Linked DNA regions of Homo sapiens: regions 1, 3 and 4 are each linked to region 2. Evidence: promoter capture Hi-C in human tissues and cell types (Jung and others, 2019). All regions are on one chromosome and are shown on one strand. Each heading gives the region's core, a stretch centred on a gene start or on the middle of the fragment in contact. The rest is flanking DNA. Distances are from core to core; before and after follow the strand shown. Region 1 has its middle 160 kb from the start of LYSMD4. Region 2 holds the start of ADAMTS17 (ADAM metallopeptidase with thrombospondin type 1 motif 17). Region 3 overlaps ADAMTS17 (ADAM metallopeptidase with thrombospondin type 1 motif 17). Region 4 overlaps ADAMTS17 (ADAM metallopeptidase with thrombospondin type 1 motif 17).

Region 1 (3,253 bases), core at 70-2,569, 440 kb before region 2:
GACTTCCTCTCATGAGAACAGCACGGGAAAGACCTGCACCATGATTCAATTACCTGCCACCAGGTCCCTCCCACAACACGTGGGAATTCAAGATAAGATTTTGGTGGGGACACAGCCAAACCATATAATTCTGCCCCTGGCCCCTCCCAAATCTCATGTCCTCACATTTCAAAGCCAATCATGCCTTCCCATCAGTCCTGCAAAGTCTTAACTCATTTCAGCATTACTCAAAAGTCAATAGTCCAAAGTCTCATCTGAGACAAGAGAATTGCCTTCTGCCTATGAGCCTGTAAAATCAAAAGCAAGTTAGTTACTTCCTAGATAAGATGTGGGTATAAGCATTGGATAAATACAGCCATTCCAAATGGGAGACATTGGCCAAAACAAAGGGGCTACAGGCCCCATGCAAATCTGAAATCCAGCAAGGCAGTCAAATCTTCAAGCTGTGAAATGATTTCCTTTGGCTCTGTGTCTCACATCCAGGTCACACTGATGCAAGATGTGGGTTCCCATGGTCTTGGGCAGCTCCACCCCTGAGGCTTTGGTGGGTACAGCCTCTCTCTTGGCTGCTTCTGTCGGCTGGCATTGAGTATCTGTGACTTTTCCAGGTGGATGGTACAAGCTGTCAGTGAATCTGCCATTCTGGGGTCTGGAGGATGGTGGCCCTCTTCTCATAGCATCCCTAGATGGCGCCCCAGTAAGGACTCTGTGTGGGGGCTCTGACCCCACATTTCCCTTTCACACTGCCCTAGCTGAGGTTCTCCATGAGCCCCCCACTCCCACCCTGGCCACAGCAAACTTTTGCCTGGGCATCCAGGCATTTTCATACATCTGAAATCTAGGCCGAGGTTCCTAAACCTCAATTCTTGACTTCTGTGCACCTGCAGACTCAACACCACGTGGAAGCTGCCAAGGCTTGGGGCTTCCACCTTCTGAAGCAAAGCCCAAGCTGTACTTTGGCCCTTTTTAGTCATGGCTGGGGTGGCTGGGATGCAGGGCACCAAGTCCTTAGATTGCACACAGCACAGGGACCCTGGGCCTGGCCCAGGAAACCATTTTATCCTAGGCCTCTGAGCCTGTGATGGAAGGGGCTACCATGAAGACCTCTGACATGCCCTGGAGACATTGTCCCCATTGTTTTGGGGATTAACATTGGGCTCCTAGTTACTTATGCAAATTTCTGCAATCCACTCATAAAATGGATTTTCTTTTCTATCACATTGTTAGGCTGCAAATTTTCTCAACCTTTATGCTCTGCTTCCCTTATAAAACTGAGTGCCTTTAACAGCACCCAAGTCATCTCTTGAATGTTTTGCTGCTTAGAAATTTCTTCCACCAGATGCACTAAATCATCTCTCTCAAGTTCAAAGATCCACAAATCTCTAGGGCAGGGACAAAATGCTGCCAGTCTTTTTACTAAAACATAACAAGAGTCACCTTTGCTCCAGTTCCCAACAAGTTCCTCATCTCTATCTGAGACCACATCAGCCTGGCCCTTATTGTCCATATCACTATCAGGCTTTTGGTTAAAGCCATTCAGCAAGTCTCTAGGAAGTTCCACACTTTCCCACATTTTCCTGTCTTTTTCTGAGCCCTCCAAAGTGTTCCAACCTCTGCCTGTTACCCAGTTCCAAAGTTGCTTCTACATTTTTGGGTATTTTTTCAGTAATGCCCCACTCTACTGGTACCAATTTCCTGTATTAGCCTCTTTTCATGCTTCTAATAAAGACATACCTGAGACTGGACAATTTACAAAAGAGGTTTAATTAGACTTACAGTTCCATGTGGCTGGGAAAGCCTCACAATCATGGTGGAAGGCAAAGAGGAGCAAATCACATCTTACATGGATGGCAGCAGGCAAAGAGAGAGCTTGTGAAGGAAAATTCCCCCTTATATTAACCATCAGATCTTGTGAGACTTCCTCTCATGAGAACAGCACAGGAAAGACTTGCCCTCATGATTCAATTACCTGCCACCAGGTCCCTCCCACAACACATGGGAATTCAAGATGAGATTTGGGTGGGGACAAAGCCAAACCATATCACCAGGTTTCAGAAGATGAGAGGAAACTCACCCAGCACTGACTCTTCTGGATAGCTTCTTGCCTGGTAACCTCAGACTGAATGTGTCCTTCACAGGCCCAAGCTCCTCTCAAGATGGCCCTTTCCTTACAACGTCTCATGCTAGGTTCCAGAAACTCCTCCTCTAGCCTGTTCTGGCCAAGACAGTAATGGCTCCACTGTCACTAGAATAGGGCATTTCACTAACCTCTGTTCTTTTCCTATACACTGTTCTTCCCTTTGTAAATAGGTTCTTTATTCAATCTTCTGCAATTACCTTTATTTGTTTGTGACAGCTGCTTTCTGCTGGTAAACTGACTGACACAGTAGGAATTTTGAAGCTACCAGTTTAAATAGCAATATAATTTTCATAATTAAGTGGGATTTATCCCTGGGATGCAGGAATGGTTCAACATACACAAATCAATATATACTATCTACCACATTAAAAGAATGAAAGACAGAATTAATATGATCATTTCCATAGATGCAGAAAATGTGTTTGACAAAATTCAACATCCATTCATGATAGATACTCTCAATAAGGAACAGAATGAATGTACCTTAACACAACAAAGGCCATATATGACAATCCCAAAGCTAACATCATACTTAACAGTGAAAAGTTGAAAGCTTTTCCTCTAAGATCAGGAACAAGATAAGGACGTGTCCGCTCTCACCACTTTCATTTAACATGTTACTGAAAGTCCTAGCCAGAGCAGTTAGGTAAGAGAAAGAAATAAAAGGCATCCAAATAGGAAGGAAAAAAGTTAAATCGTCACTGCTTGCAGATGATATGATCTTATATAGAGAAAACCATAAAGACTCCACCAAGAAACTGTTAGAACTAATAAAGAATACAGTAAAGTTGCAGGATAAAAAAATTAACATATGTACCCTAAAACTTAAAGTATAATAATAATAAAAAATAAAAAAATTAACATACAAAAATAAGGATGTTTCTACAGTAACAAGGAACTATCTGAAAGAAATTAAGACTACAACCCCCTTTACAATAGTTACAAAAAATTATATAAGAATAAATTTAACCAGGGATATGAAAGATCCACACACTGAAAAGCACAAAACATTGATGAAAGAAATTGTAGAAGACATAACTAAATGGAAAGATATCTCATGCTCATGAACTAGAAGACTTAATATTGTTAAAAGTTTATGCCACCCAAAACAAT
Region 2 (3,000 bases), core at 67-2,566:
CACTTTGACACGGCGGTGCAGATGCAGTGTTCTCTACATTGGGGCCAAGGCGCCTCTGTCCAGGGCCCTGACAGTTTCATCCCTGCCAGATCTGCGCTCCCTAGAGCGGGCGGCGTATACCCCACGCAACCCCAGCTCCGCGCGGGTTCCACGGGCTGCAGAGGCGCTGGACTGGGATGCTGCCCCTCCCACCCCCTTTGCCTATAGAGGGTACCGAAGGCCGGGGTGGGGGATGGGGAGAGGTGGAAAGGCAGGGGGTTCCCTCCGGTTCCCCTGGAGGCTGGACTTCCAGCAGAGGCGCCCCACCCCCACCCTCCACGGCGACCACTCTGCGTCGCAACAGACCGGACGGGCCGACCCGGAGGTGGCGCGGGCAGTACCAGGCCGCCGGCGGCGCCGCAGGCGCTGAGCGAGACGAGGGAGCCGGGGTGGCCGAGCACACGGCCCGAGTAGAAGCACAGCTCGGCGGGGCGGCCGCGGCGCCGGGCCGCGCCCGCCTCCTCCACCTCGAAGCCTCGGGACAGGAAGCGCAGGTCGCGGCGCAGCTGAAGGTACAGGTCGCGCCCGAAGGCCGGCAGGTGCAGCAGCAGGGCGCGCTCTCCGGGCCGGGCGCGCGGGGCGGCTGGGGGCGTGCGGGGGCGTCGCCGCCGTCGGGGCCCGGGGGCTGCGGGCAGCGGCGGCAGGTGCACGTCGTCGGGGCGCACCCGCCACGGGAGCACCACCTCCACGTCGGCCGCCGCGTCGCCGACAGCTGCGGGGAGAGAGGAGACGCGTCAGCGCGGCGGGGCCCGCCCGGACGCCCGCCCTCCCGCTGGCCGCCAGCCGCGCCAGCGCGGGGACAGCGCGACCCGGAGCCGGCGCTGCCTTCCCTTCCCTCGCCCGGCACCTCCACGCTGGCCCGCGCCACCCGGGGAGGGTCTCCGGCGCAGCCGCGCGAGCACCTCCCGGAACGGCGCCGCGCATCGGCGAGCGGAGACCCGGCGGCGGCGCGCCTGCCACGGAGCCACCCGATTCCCGTACTCCGGCCGCGGCCCGCGCCTCCTCCGCTCGGGCGCCGTCAGCGGTCCCGCCGCCGCCCCCGGGCCGCCAGGACGCCGCGAGAACGCAGAGGGAAGGTAGCCGCAGGACGCGGGGTGAAGAGGGCTGTGGGAGGGGGCGCTACCTGTGCCCGGGTCCAGTCCCCAAACCAGCAGCAGCAGCACGGGCAGGACGAGCGGAGGCAGCAGGGCGCCGTCACACATGGTACCCGGGACCGGCAGCCCCCCCGGACCGTGGCGGCGAAGCAGGAGCGCGCTAGGCGGCGGCGCCAGCCGGAGTGAAGCCCTCCAGCCTTTGGAAAAAGTAATTAGCGCTGCGGACAAACCCAACGTGGTAAACCCCAAGCCCCGCCTTCCCCTCGGAAGGCGGGAGGGGATTGGGCCCTCGCTTTCCTCCGCCCCGCCTCCTCCTTCCCTACTGGTTGGGATGGGTCGAAACCACAGTGCGTAGTTAGGTTGTCAGCGCTTTCTTACACGTGGTTTCTGGGCAGTGGCGGGGACACGGCACCAGGTGGCGCGCGGGAGCCGACCGGAGCCGTGGGACCCTGGAAGAGCTGGAGGATGCGGGGCTGGTCTTCAGAGCTTGTCCTCATTTTGGAACTCTCTCAGCCTGCTGCCCAGTTTCCCGGGAAGGTAGGGCGGAAATCGCCCCGGCCAAGCGGTTTCATCCAAAACTGCATATAATCTTTACATCTGAAGTTAGGTTTTAGTTGTTTGTGGCCGCAAAGACTCCCAGTCCACTTTCCCGCACACCTGAGTTAGCACCTGAAGGCTATATCCGCGGCGTTTATCCAAACTCTTCACACCTCCTGTCTTCTTTAATCCCACAGGAGCCAGTGCAACACGCATGCTCACACCCTCTTACAGACTGAAAAACTGAGGAAGAGAGAGAGCTTAAGGAAAAACGCTGAAGTTACCCAGAGAGTTCCTGTTGGAGCAGAGGCTAGAATTTGTGATCCTGATTTCTGGCTTGGTGCTTCTTATTAACAGCAGGATCCCCCCGCCCCGAGGGAAGCAGGACTCAGTGTTACAGGTTAGGAAACGGAGGCACAAAGTCCCAAAGCCTAGCCTTGAACGTGAGTCTCCCAGAAACAGAATGAGTTGATCCTTTCCTGCCACAATATAACTGAGGTCTGCAGGGAAGGTGACTCCATTAGCTTGCTGAATAGCATCTTGTAGAGGCTCATGCCTGTAATCCCAGCACTTTGGGAGGCCAAGGCGGGCGGGTCACGAAGTCAGGGGTTCCAGACTAGCCTGGCCAATATGGTGAAACCCTGTCTCTACTAAAAATACAAAAATTAGCCAGGCGTGATGGCGCACACCTGTAGTCCCAGCTACTCGGGAGGCTAAGGCAGAAGAATCGCTTGAACCCGGGGGGTGGAGGTTGCAGTGAGCCGAGATTGTGCCACTGCACTCCAGCCTGGGCAACAGAGCAAGACTCCATCTCAAAAAAACAAAACAAAACCAAACAAAACAAAAAAAACAATTAAGTGTAACCATAACCAATCTCAGGTTTCCCGTCCCTTCCCTGTCCTGCTCTTTTCCATTTTATCATAGCAGAAAGGTTATAGTTCCCCGCTGGATGCTGCTTGAAGCCTCGGAATCTAAATTCATCACAGGATTACATATCATCTGAAGGAATCTATAACACTGGCCACCTTCCCCGAAATATAATGAACCCCAAGGCTGAACAGTGACCCTCCACAGAGGCTTGCCACAAAAGGGGCTGCCCTCACTGCTTGGCACCTACAGTTCTGGGGGCATCTGCACAGGTCCTGCTCTTGGCCAGGCCTGGGGCTGTGTTTCTCCCCCTTGCCTCTGTCCAGGTCAACAACCTCAGATGACTGACAGCTCAGTAGCATTTTCTGGCAGCACAAGAAACCTTGGTGATTGAGGTGATGGACACCTCATTTACCCTGATGGGATTATTACTCATTGTATGGCCATATCAAAAAATTTCATG
Region 3 (2,906 bases), core at 268-2,767, 260 kb before region 2:
GTGACAACATGCATGACTTGAAAATACTATGCTAAGGGAAAAAAGCCTGTCAGGAAGGACCACGTATTATACTACTCCATTTACATGAAATGTCCAGATAGGCAAATTTGTAGATACAGACATTAGATGAGTGGTTACCTAGGGCTTAAGAGGGAGATGGGGAATGACTGCTACCAAGCATGGGGTTTCTTTTGGGAATGACTGTGGTGATATGGCACCATTCCTTGGGGTGATCAGCCAGCAACCTGGTGGCAAGTTGATTATATTGTACCTTTTCCATCATGGAAACGGCAGTGGTTTGTCCTCACTGGAATAGACACTTACTCCGGATATGGGTTTGCCTATCCTGCACGAAATGCTTCTGCCAAGACTACCATCCGTGGAGTCTCGGAATGCCTTATCCACCATCATGGTATTCCACACAGCACTGCCTCTGACCAAGGCACTCACTTTACAGCTAAAGAGGTGTGGCAGTGGGCTTATGCTCATGGAATTCACTGGTCTTACCATGTTCTCCATCATCCTGAAGAGGCTGCAAAGAACGGTGGAATGGCCTTTTGAAGTCACAATTACAATGCCAACTAGGTGACAACACTTTGCAGGGCTGAGGCAAAGTTCTCCAGCAGGCCGTATATGTTCTGAATTAGCATCCAATATACGGTACTGTTTCTCCCATAGCCAGGATTCACGGTCCAGGAATCAAGGGGTGAAACTGAACTGACACCACTCACCATCACCCCTAGTGATCCCCTAGCAAAATTTTTGCTTCCTGTTCCCCCGACATTACATTCTGCTGGCCTGGAGATCTTAGTTCCAGAGGGAGAAATGCTGCCACCAGGAGACACAATGATTCCATTAAACTGGAAGATTGGTACCCACCTGGACACTTTGGGCTCCTCCCACCTTTAAGTCAACAGGCCAAGAAGGGAGTTACAGTGTTGACTGGGGTGACTGACCTGGACTATCAAGATGAAATCAGTCTACTACTCCACAAAGGAGGTAAGGAAGAGTATGCATGGAATACAGGAGATCCATTAGGGCGTCTCTTAGTATCACCATGCCCTGTGACTAAGGTCAATGGGAAACTACAACAGCCCAATCCAGGCAGGACTACAAATGACCCAGACCATTCAGGAATGAAGGTTTGGGTCACTCCACCAAGAAAAAACCCACGTCTTGCTGAGGTGCTTGCTGAAGGCAAAGGGAATACAGAACGGGTAGTAGAAAAAGGTAGTTATCGATACCAGCTACAACCATGTGACCAGCTGCAGAAATGAAGTCTGTAATTATTTCCTCCTTTTTTTGCTAAAAACATGTTTGTGCATGTATACACTTGTACTAAGAAAGTATATTTCCTTTTCCTTTATCATGTGACATAACATTTATTGACTTCATATCAGCATGTTAAGTATTGTTAACTTTATGTAATAGTATTTGGGTTGGGGATTGGTGTATTTCTGGTTGTACGAAGGATAGCTGTAGTATGTTAGGGGTAATTATGACCTTATTATTGTCTTTATTTGAAGACTATGTGTGTTCTCAGGAGATGTGTATGGGTTCAAGTTGACTTGGGGTGGACTTGTGATGGTTGATACTGAGTGTCAACTTGATTAGATTAAAGGATACAAAGTATTGATCCTGGATGTGTCTGTGAGGGTGTTGCCAAAAGAGTTTAACATTTGGGTCAGGGGGCTGGGGAAGGCAGATCCACCCTTAATCTGGTGGGCACAATCTAATCAGCTGCCAGCAAATACAAAGCAGGCAGAAAAACATGAAAAGGAGAGGTGGGCCTAGGCTCCCAGCCTACATCTTTCTCCTGTGCTAGATGCTTCCTGCCCTGGAACATCAGACCCCAAGTTCTTCAGTTTTGGGACTGGGACTGGCTCTCCTTGCTCCTCAGCTTGCGGACAGCCTATTGTGGGATGTTGTGATTACGTAAGTTAATACTTAATAAACTCCCCTATATATATATGCACACATACATACACACACACTACTTAATAAACTCCCATATATATGTATGTGTGTATCTCCTCTACAGAACCCTAATACATGGCTGCATGACCTTGTGCTAAAACTCATTCAATCGCACACTTTAAATGGGTGAATTATATGGCATGTGAATTCTATCTTTATAAAGCTGCTTAGAAAAGAAACAATACTTCTATGAATGGCTTTGTACATGTCTTCTTATGCATAGATATAATGTCCTACCAGGTCAGCTACTGTGAGAATCACTGAGACAAACACAGGTGCTGCTTAGTTGACCTTGGTTTAAATACTATTTAAGCCAACCAACACTATACGAGAGTAAACGTTTACTCAAAGATTTCTAAATACTTGACAAAATCAATCTTCTTAGTATTTGCTAATCCATTTGGTGAAAAGATGTTGTCATAAGTTGAATTTGCATTTCCCTGATAACCAACAAGGCTCAGCGTCCTATACACTTATTGACCATTTGTTTTCCCTTTTCAGTTAATGGCCTTGTTCTTAAGCTTTGCCCATTTTTCTACCATCTTTTATTTAGTTATGATGCAGTAGTTTAAAAAATGTCCATAACATATATTACTATAATTTGATAATATTTGGACTCAGACTCTTTACTTACTAGACATGTTGCAAAAATTGTCAGTCTATCAGTCTATCATCTGTTGTTTCTTTGCTTTTATTGATTTTTTTGTTTTCTTTGAGACCAAGAGTCTTGCTTCTGTTGCCCAGGCTGGAGTGCAGCGGTGCAATCTTGGCTCACTGCAACCTTCGCCTCCTGGGTTCAAGCGATTCTCCTGCCTCGGCCTCCCGAGTAGCTGGGACTACAGGCACGTGCCACCACGCCCAGCTAATTTTTGTATTTTTGGTAGAGATGGGGTTTTACCATGTTAGCCAGGATGGTCTCCATCTCTTGA
Region 4 (3,051 bases), core at 359-2,858, 350 kb before region 2:
ATGAAATGAAATGGGTTTAGTTGTCCAAGTACTTAGACATATATATTAGCATCTTGAAACCTCTAAGCATCTCTGAGAAACAGGCAGGGTCAGTGTTTATGATTCCCATTTCAGAGATAAAGAGAGGTTAAGGCACACAAGTAGAGAGTCAGAGCTGTAAATCAGCCCCTTAATGTCTCTATTGTGTGAGTTCAAGTTCTCATGGTTCGAAGTGCATCTTTCTTTTCGCTCTCTTGACTGAGCTGGAGTGCAGTGGTGCAATAATGGCTCACTGTAGCTTCGACTTCCCTGGCTCAAGTGATCCTCCCGCCTCAGCCTCCTAAGGAGCTAAGACTATGGGCATGTGCCACCACGCCCAGCTATTTTTTTGATTTTTTTTTGTAGAGACAGGGTATCCCTATGTTTCCCAGGCTGGTCTGGAACTTCTGGGCTCAAGCAATCCTGCCTTGGCCTCCCAAAGTGCTGGGACTACAGGTGTGAGCCACCACGCCCAGCCAAAGCACACATATCTTTTGTGGGAGCTCTGAAGTTAAGTTTCTCTGCCAGTGAAAGATACATCCTGGCAGCTCCATACTAAGCTTTATTAACATCCAAGTAACTGTGTGACGTCCCTGTTTGGTTTTGGGGAAACTGGACTGACAGCCTCAGTTCTATTGCCTTGGTCAGATGTTTTGACCAGGGAGTAAATAGGAAGGAGGTGTTTTAGGTCCTTCTCAAATTCACTGTTAATCCAGAATAATAGGGTACCTTAGCACTACCAGGCAAACTGGGAATTGGGAAATTTGGCTTTTTTTTTTTTTTTACTCAAAGGGTTTGGGGAACTTTGTGTTCTGACTTGGGCTGATGGGAAGGTGGTAGCATTTCTGCAGGGATCAGATTCTGATAAATTTTGCCTTCCAATGGAAAACCCATTTTTCCTTCCGTAAAGCACAGGCAGAAGCAAAATTACCTGCCTGAGCCATGTTGCCACATTTTCATAGCGAAGCCAAAACCTAAATTTTCAAATGAAATTTCAGAAATAATGCCACACATCTACAACCATCTGATCTTTGACAACCCTGACAAAAACAAGCAATGGGGAAAGGATTCCCTATTTAATACCCGGTGTTGGGAAAACTGGCTAGCCATGTGTAGAAAACTGAAACTGGACCCTTTCCTTACACCTTGTACAAAAATTAACTCAAGATGGATTAAAGACTTAAACCTAAGACCTAAAACCATGAAAACCCTAGAAGAAAACCTAGGCAATACCACTCAGGACATAGGCATGGTCAAAGACTTTGTGACTAAAACACCAAAAGCAATGGCAGCAAAAGCCAGAACTGACAAATGGGATCTAATTAAACTAAAGAGCTTCTGCACAGCAAAAGAAACTAGCATCAGAGTGAACAGGCAACCTACAGAATGGGAAAAAATTTTGCAATCTATCCATCTGACCAAAGGCTAATATCCAGAATCTACAAAGAACTTAAACAAATTTACAAGAAAAAACCAAACAACCCCATCAAAAAGTGGGTGAAGGATATGAACAGACACTTCTCAAAAGAAGACATTTATGCAGCCAATAAACATATGAAAAAAAGCTCATCATCACTGGTCATTAGAGAAATGCAAATCAAAACCACAATGAGATACCATCTCACGCCAGTTAGAATGGTGATCATTAAAAAGTCAGGAAACAACAGATGCTGGAGAGGATGTGGAAAAATAGGAATGCTTTTACACTGTTCATGGGGAATGTAAATTAGTTCAACCATTGTGAAAGACAGTGTGGCGATTCCTCAAGGATCTAGAACCAGAAATACCATTTGACCCAGCAATCCCTTTACTGAATATATACCCAAAGGATTATAAACCATTCCACTATAAAGACACATGCACACATACGTTTACTGCGGCACTGTTGACAATAGCAAAGACTTGGAACCAACCCAAATATCCATCAATGATAGACTGGATAAAGAAAATGTGGCACATATATACCACGGAATACTATGCAGCCACAAAAAAGGATGAGTTCATGTCCTTTGCAGGGACATGGATGAAGCTGGAAACCATCATTCTCAGCAAACTAACACAGGAACAGAAAATCAAACACTGCATGTTCTTACTCATAAGTGGGAGGTGAGCAATGAGAACATATGGACACAGGGAGGGGAACATCACACACCAGGGACTGTCGTAGGGTGGGGGGCTAGGGGAAGCAGTACATTAGGACAAATACCTAATGCATCTGGGGCTTAAAACCTAGATGATGGGTTGATGGGCGCAGCAAACCACCATGACACATGTATACCTGTGTAACAAACCTGCACTTTCTGCACATGTACCTCAGAACTTAAAAAAAAAATGCTAGCCACTAATTCCAACATGTTTAAGATATTCTGCAGGCTGAGCAAAAACCAATGGCTCTAGGTCAGCAGTTGGCAATCTTTGAGGGAAGAGCTATCAGGAGAAGCAAGCAGGAGTTTTTCAGTTGCTAAGACCATACAGAAGGACAAACACGGTCTATGCTTACAGGAGGAGTGGTACAGATTTTGTGAGAAGAGTCTAGAAAACCCACTAGAAGGTTCTTACAGGTGGCAGTGGGGCTCACCTTGGTCCCCAGAAAACAGGAATCATTCAAATATATCAGATGAATGAATAAAAGAGGAGTTAAACAACAAAGCATTTTCTTACCTGGAGAAACATTCAGTGGCCCTTTATTCACCCTTGCTCTCGGGAGTGCTGACCCGGCGGTTCTGTGATACTCCTCCCTGCTACCACCCCATGGCCCCCTGCCCTGTCTGTCCCTGCATCTCCAGGCCCTTGCCCAGGGGTCCCGGGAGTGAATGGAAGTGATGTTTGCCCCAAGTGTCCCCATGGCAGGAGGCTGGGGCCTGCCAGCACACCGCACAGCATGGCAAGCCTGGCATCCAGGGCACCCGCGTCCTGCCTTGGGCTGCGTTTCGGGTTCCTTCTGCATGCACGTGAAGCAGTGGGGTTCTCCCAGTGAGCCCCAAGGGGCAGTGCTGGTGCAGCCTGTGGGAGAAGCAGGGGAGGAAGCACACG

Evidence for each region. Contacts are between HindIII fragments. The study calls those that stand out against the background at their distance.
Region 1: a contact is called between a fragment that was not itself captured here and the fragment with the promoter of ADAMTS17 in region 2, in 2 of the 25 tissues and cell types used here (dorsolateral prefrontal cortex and thymus).
Region 3: a fragment that was not itself captured here is called in contact with the fragment with the promoter of ADAMTS17 in region 2 in 3 of the 25 tissues and cell types used here (H1 embryonic stem cells, mesendoderm cells and stomach).
Region 4: a contact is called between a fragment that was not itself captured here and the fragment with the promoter of ADAMTS17 in region 2, in 1 of the 25 tissues and cell types used here (mesendoderm cells).

Annotation. Positions count from the first base shown.
Region 1 is chr15:99,896,398-99,899,650 of GRCh38, forward strand. No RefSeq gene overlaps it. Among named protein-coding and RNA genes, the nearest start is that of LYSMD4, 160 kb to the left of the region's middle. RefSeq lists an enhancer at 137-216. The HindIII fragment of the contact is 3,835 bases long and covers 1-3,237 here.
Region 2 is chr15:100,340,659-100,343,658 of GRCh38, forward strand. It overlaps ADAMTS17 (ADAM metallopeptidase with thrombospondin type 1 motif 17), which reads right to left and starts at 1,317. Exons shown (of 22, transcript NM_139057.4): 1 at 1,163-1,317; 2 at 381-751. The coding sequence starts at 1,241. RefSeq lists an enhancer at 1-169. The HindIII fragment of the contact is 7,903 bases long and covers 1-3,000 here.
Region 3 is chr15:100,079,390-100,082,295 of GRCh38, forward strand. The region is part of intron 15 of ADAMTS17 (ADAM metallopeptidase with thrombospondin type 1 motif 17); the gene reads right to left. Among named protein-coding and RNA genes, the nearest start is that of ADAMTS17, 260 kb to the right of the region's middle. The HindIII fragment of the contact is 5,822 bases long and covers 1-2,906 here.
Region 4 is chr15:99,989,840-99,992,890 of GRCh38, forward strand. The region is part of intron 20 of ADAMTS17 (ADAM metallopeptidase with thrombospondin type 1 motif 17); the gene reads right to left. Among named protein-coding and RNA genes, the nearest start is that of LYSMD4, 260 kb to the left of the region's middle. RefSeq lists enhancers at 2,405-2,919, 2,920-3,051. The HindIII fragment of the contact is 5,236 bases long and covers 1-3,051 here.